Regions from separate parts of the Homo sapiens genome. Here region 2 is linked to region 1. Evidence: promoter capture Hi-C in 16 types of primary human blood cells and fetal thymus (Javierre and others, 2016). All regions are on one chromosome and are shown on one strand. Each heading gives the region's core, a stretch centred on a gene start or on the middle of the fragment in contact. The rest is flanking DNA. Distances are from core to core; before and after follow the strand shown. Region 1 holds the start of CDK11A (cyclin dependent kinase 11A). Region 2 holds the start of FNDC10 (fibronectin type III domain containing 10).

The links. Contacts are between HindIII fragments. The CHiCAGO score rates a contact against its expected background, and 5 or more counts as called.
Region 2: the fragment with the promoter of FNDC10 here is called in contact with the fragment with the promoter of CDK11A in region 1 in 17 of 17 cell types (activated CD4 T cells, monocytes, endothelial precursors and 14 more); the score reaches 10.2 in activated CD4 T cells.

The regions. Positions count from the first base shown.
Region 1 is chr1:1,723,075-1,725,696 of GRCh38, forward strand. CDK11A (cyclin dependent kinase 11A) reads right to left here and starts at 1,283. Exons shown (of 20, transcript NM_024011.4): 1 at 1,184-1,283. RefSeq lists enhancers at 1,166-1,395, 1,376-2,215. The HindIII fragment of the contact is 24,282 bases long and covers 1-2,622 here.
Region 2 is chr1:1,598,835-1,601,456 of GRCh38, forward strand. FNDC10 (fibronectin type III domain containing 10) reads right to left here and starts at 1,301. Exons shown (of 1, transcript NM_001242659.2): 1 at 1-1,301. The coding sequence starts at 1,181. The coding sequence ends at 501. LOC105378586 (a long non-coding RNA gene) reads left to right here and starts at 599. Exons shown (of 3, transcript NR_147951.1): 1 at 599-782; 2 at 1,823-1,872. RefSeq lists enhancers at 1-454, 455-1,114, 1,115-1,774, 1,775-2,434 and silencers at 908-1,027, 1,328-1,377. The HindIII fragment of the contact is 12,096 bases long and covers 1-2,622 here.

The sequences.
Region 1 (2,622 bases), core at 33-2,532:
TACAAAAGTTAGCCCAGTGTGGTGGCGCGTGCCTGTATTCCTAGCTACAGGAAGGAGGCTGCTAGAGGCAGGAGGATCACTTGAATCAGAGAGGTCAAGGCTGCAATGAGCCAAGACTGCGCCACTGCACTCCAGCCTAGATAACAAAGTAAGACTTGGTTAAAAAAAAAAAAAAAAAAAGGTAAGCTCTAGGCTGAGGCGGGTGGATCACAAGGTCGGGAGGTCAAGACCAGCCTGGCCAACACGGCGAAAACCCTGTCTCCACTAAAAATACAAAACTTAGCTGGGCGTGGTGGCGGGTGCCTGTAATCCCAGCTACTCGGGAGGCCGAGGCAGCAGAATCGCTTGAATCCGAAAGGCGGAGGTTCCGGTGAGCCGAGGTCGCGTCACTGCACTCCAGCAAGACCCCGTCTCAAAAAAAAAAAAAAAAAAAAAAAAAAAAAAAAAAACAAGAATGATAAGTTGTAAGCCAGGCAAGGTGGCGAGCGCCTGTAGTCCCATATACTCTGCAAGCTGAGATGGGAGACCGATTGAGCCCAGGAGTTCCAGGCTGAAGTGCGCTTGTGAACAGCCACTGCGCTGCAGCATGGGCGACAAAAAAGAGTGATGGGTTCTGAAAAATGACCGCTTGAAATCAAGTCTCGTTTCTGTCATTCTTGTATGGTCTTGGGTAACGTAATTCACCTCAGTTCAGTCTTCCGTACAACCAGAATAACAACACCTACGTGATAGTATCGATCGCGGATTAAAGATCATCCGTTTAAAGGCTCTTAACTCAGGACCTGCCACTCATCAAACACTGCTTTTACTGTCAGAATCTGCTAGAAAGACCGCTTGGACTACGTGAAGCCACTAGCACACTGGACAGCTGCACCTTGAGACCGGGGAGATGCTCCGAGATGTGCTCGCGAACAAGGCCACCTGACCCGGGCACTGGGCTATTTCCTCGGGTTCAGTCCCGCACACTTGAGGTTCAGCCTGGCAGACGTTGGCTCCAGACAGCGTTTGGACCCGCCGCCTCCACCACCCAAAGTTCCGTGCGGGATGAGACTGTCCGCGGAAGCGAGGGTGTCGCTCGCCCCCGGGCCCGGGTCCGCCCCGCTCCGAGGCCTGCTCGGAAGAAAGACCTCGGTGCGCAGTTCTCGTCGCGCTCCCACACCTGGTCCGCCCAGTCGGAACTCACCCCTACGGGGCCGCGGCCGGTCCCTGAGCCTGAGAAGAAACAGCAACCGGCGCTCGCCAGAAGTATCCTCACTTCCTGTGTTGACGCCTAATGATGATATAATAGCCGACCTCTGGCCCAGAACTCAAGACGACAGGGGCTCGCTCTGTGCGGCACTTCCTGTGTCTGCGCGGGATGATGACGCATAAAACAGCGCTTGCTCAGGTCCAGGACTCCAAAAGAAACTGCGCCGTGAGCTGCACTTCCGACTTCGGCGCGGGCCGGGGCGCCGAGCAGAGCGACGCCGACTTTTGGAGCAGTTTGCGCCTGCGCGGAACGCGTGGCCGGCTTCCGGAATCCTACCGGGACTTTTCCGGTAGCGAAGCCCGCGCCTGTGCCAAGGCTTGCGAGCAGAATGCCTTCGCGATGGACGCCCGCATTCCACCCCCTTGACCGCTGGGACCCCTAGTGGCGGGTGGGTGGAGCGCGCTCCATTTACCTGCTGGTTACCTCGTGAGGCGCCTCAGGTCTGTGTGTCTTGTAAAGGCCGATCTCGGAATTTAACTCTGAACCTTACTCAGAAACAAAGCAGGGAGAGCTCTTACGATGTGATTTTATTTTATTTATTCATGTATTTACTTTTGAGTCGGAGCCTTGCTCTGCCGCCCAGGTTGGAGTGCAGTGGCGTGGTCTTGGCTCACTGCAGCCTCCTCCCGGGTTCAAGGAATTTTCCTGCCTCAGCCTCCCGAGTAGCTGGAACCACAGGCCCGCGCCACCACGCCCGGCTAATTTTTATATTTTTGGTAGAGACGAGGTTTCGCCATATTGGCCAGGCTGGTCTCGAACTCCTGACCTCAAGTGATCCGCCTGCTTCGTCCTCCTAAAGTGCTGGGATTACAGGCGTGAGCCACCGCGCCGGGCCTTTTACAATGTGATTTTGAAGCTGACACTGGCAGTGGGTCCTCAAAGTGCAGACTCACTGGGTATGGTGCTTCCCCCAACTCCCAGGGCCCCACTCCAAACCCATGGATTCAGAGCATTGCAGGAGAAGAGGATAAAACGAGCAATTAATTCCCTTTCCATATGTCAGGTTTTCCTCTTGCCTTGAAAAGTCACAGAAAAATGCTTTAGACATCTGAATCTCAGGAAACAAACAATGGAAGATAAACATCCGCATTTACTGGGCCTGAAATGGGAAAATGAAAGATGTGGCAAGAAACTGACAAGGGCCCAAGAAGGGCGATGGGTATCGGAATTCTTTTCATCCCGGAATGAAATGCTGCTTGCTTTGTGTACCCAAGCTCTTTTTTTATTTTTATTTTTTTGAGACGGAGTCTCGCTCTGTTGCCCAGGCTGGAGTGCAGTGGCGCGATCTCGGGTCACTGGAAGCTCCGCCACCCGGATTCACGCCATTCTCCCGCCTCCACTCCATTCGCCCGCATTAGGCTCCTGAGTACCTG
Region 2 (2,622 bases), core at 51-2,550, 120 kb before region 1:
TTGGCTCCTGCAGTGGGCCCGAGATACTAAGGCACGAAGCTAACCTAAGCCCAGTGGGGTGGGGCGGGGCAGGACAGGCTTGGAGAGCTGCGCCCCAGGCCTGCAAAGCACAGTGACCGAGCAATGGCGACGGTCTGTCTGGGACAATTCGGCACAGGATGGAGGTGCGGGGTGAGCCGGAGTGCCCATGGCTCTTGCTGGAAGGGGCTCCATGCCCTGGCCGCCTCTATAAAGGCCTGCGGAGAGCGGGGAGAGCCCTGGATGCGGCTGGCACAGCAGCGCAAGCCCAGGGGCCAATCCGGGGCCAGAGTCTGGGAGTCTGACGCCCGGCTGGAAAGGGCGTGTGATGATGCCAAAGTGCCGGAGCCGTCGCCGGCAGGTCCTCCTCCGCGGGGATCTTAAGGAGGCAGCAGGAATGAGGAGAGGAGAGCGGGCGGAGGACCTGGGAGCTCAGGCGCCCTCAGGCAGGTGGCGCAAAGATGGGCGGGCGGCCTCGCGCTTCAGGGGTGTCTGCGCAGGCCGGGGCGCGCGAGGGCCGGGCGCATGAGGTTCTCGGTGATGTAGGCCACCAGCAGGCAGATGACCACCAGCATGACGCAGATGGAGCCGCCCACCGCCGTCATGGCCACCACGATGTCCTGCATGCCGGCCGGCTCGGCGGTGAACTCCACGCACTCGGCCGGCTCGGGGGTCTCTGGCGCGGCGGCGGCGGGCCCAGCGCGCAGCGGCAGCGGCTGCAGGCACAGGCGGTAGAGGACGCTGTCGTGCACGTCGGGCAGCAGGTAGTCGCGGCAGGAGGCCCCGAGGAGCACGCGCTCGCACGGGAAGCGCGTGTAGGCGCCGCGCCACGAGCAGTTGAGCGCGAAGGCGCGCACGCGGCGCGCGGCGGCCGGGGCCAGGCGCCACTGCAGGAGGACGCTGCGGTTGCGCAGGACGCTGGCGCGCAGGGAGCGGCCGGCCGGGGCGTGCAGCACGCAGCCCGGAGCCTGGCAGCGGAAGCCGCGCGCGGGGCTGCGGAAGCACAGGCGCCCGCCGCCCGCCTCGGGGCCCTCGGGCAGCACCTTGTAGGGGCACCAGGGCGCGTCGGGGGTCGGCTCCCAGCCCGGCGGCGTCGGGGCGGCCGCGGCGCAGGGCGGCGGCGCGCAGGCGGCCAGCAGCAGCAGCAGCGGCGGGGCGCGCATCCTGCGGCGGGGCCACGGGGCGCGGCGCTGGGTCACGCGGGCCGCGCCGCCGCCGTCCCCGCTGCCCGCTCCCCGCGATCCCCGGCGCGCCGCGCCCTCCGCCGCCGCCCGCTCCGACCCGCCCCCGCGCCCCGTGCGCGCTCGGACCCGGCGCGGCGGCGGAGGCGGGGCCGCCCCTCGCCCCGCCCCCCTTAACCCTCGCCGGGCCGCGGCCTACGGGTGCGGGGGATCGGGGGTGGGGGGGAGGAGGGGGACGCAGCGAGGCGGCCGGAGTGCCGGTGGGGCTGGGGTGCGGGCAGGGGCGCGGGGTGCGGGCAGGGCCGCCGCTCTCCCGGCTTCCCGCCTAGTGAGCGCACCTTGGACCCCTGCGGCTTTTCCGAGCCGAAACTCACGGGCTGTGGCCGGCTTCGTTTCGCGTCGTGCAGCTCCGCGACCGCCCGTGGCCACACCAGTCGGGGACTTCGTGCTTTACGATGGGGGCGCAGCGGTCTGGCACGCGCAGGACCCCGGGCCTTGCACCCCAACGCTGGCCGCCCTGGACCCGCGGCGGGGACCCGCGCAGTCAGGGTACCTGCCCATACCGATGGGGTGGGGACCAGCACGGAGACTTTCCTTCACCCCGCGGCTTCTGTTCCTTTCAGGACGGACAGCGCCCACCCGGAGGAAAGCCTGACAGATGAGACTTCGCAAGGTGAGAACTCCCTTCGCTCCACACGCAGCGGAGGCAGCTGCAGGGCGCCGACCTTCCCTGCCTCATTGCGCCCCCTCCTCCTCCAGATGCGCTCTGGGGGGCCCTCCCGATGGCTGTGGGGAGGTCAGGGCTGGACAAAGGGAATCCAAAAAGCCCACCCGGTGCACTGAGTAGGTGGCACCGACGGGGGAGGGGAAGGCGGGACACACCCCAAGACCCCTGCCCCTCATTCCCGTCCCTGCATAGATCACCCAGCAACCAGGACACCCCTCCAGGGCCAGGACTACAGCCAGGGACTGTGTATGCAGACGTGGCCGGGCCTGGCCGGCCTGCCCTAACTGGAAAGGAGGCCAAGCCTCGCACCTAAGGCTGGGCTGGCACCTCCGCTGAGCCAGCTCTGGGTCTGCAGGGGTTGTGGGGGGCTCTCTGGCAACTGGACCATGAGTTCCTGCAACCCCTTCCTGTGCTCTCCTTGCCTGGGGGCAGAGTGAGGAGAGACTGGCTATTCTGCTCACGGTGTCCTTGGTCCCCGACCTCTGGATGGCCATGTCTCCGCCCCCCCACGGAGTCACCACCCAGCCTCACGAATTCCTGGTCATCTTGAAAAACCCAGTGCAGTGGTCAGGACCCCACAGGATCTCAGGGGCTCTGCCAGAGCCCCGGCCCAGCGGTCAGGCCCCCACCAACTGTGGTCACGGTGCACCTCCGTCCCCGGCATGGAGGGCCCTGACCCCCTACACCAGCCTGTTG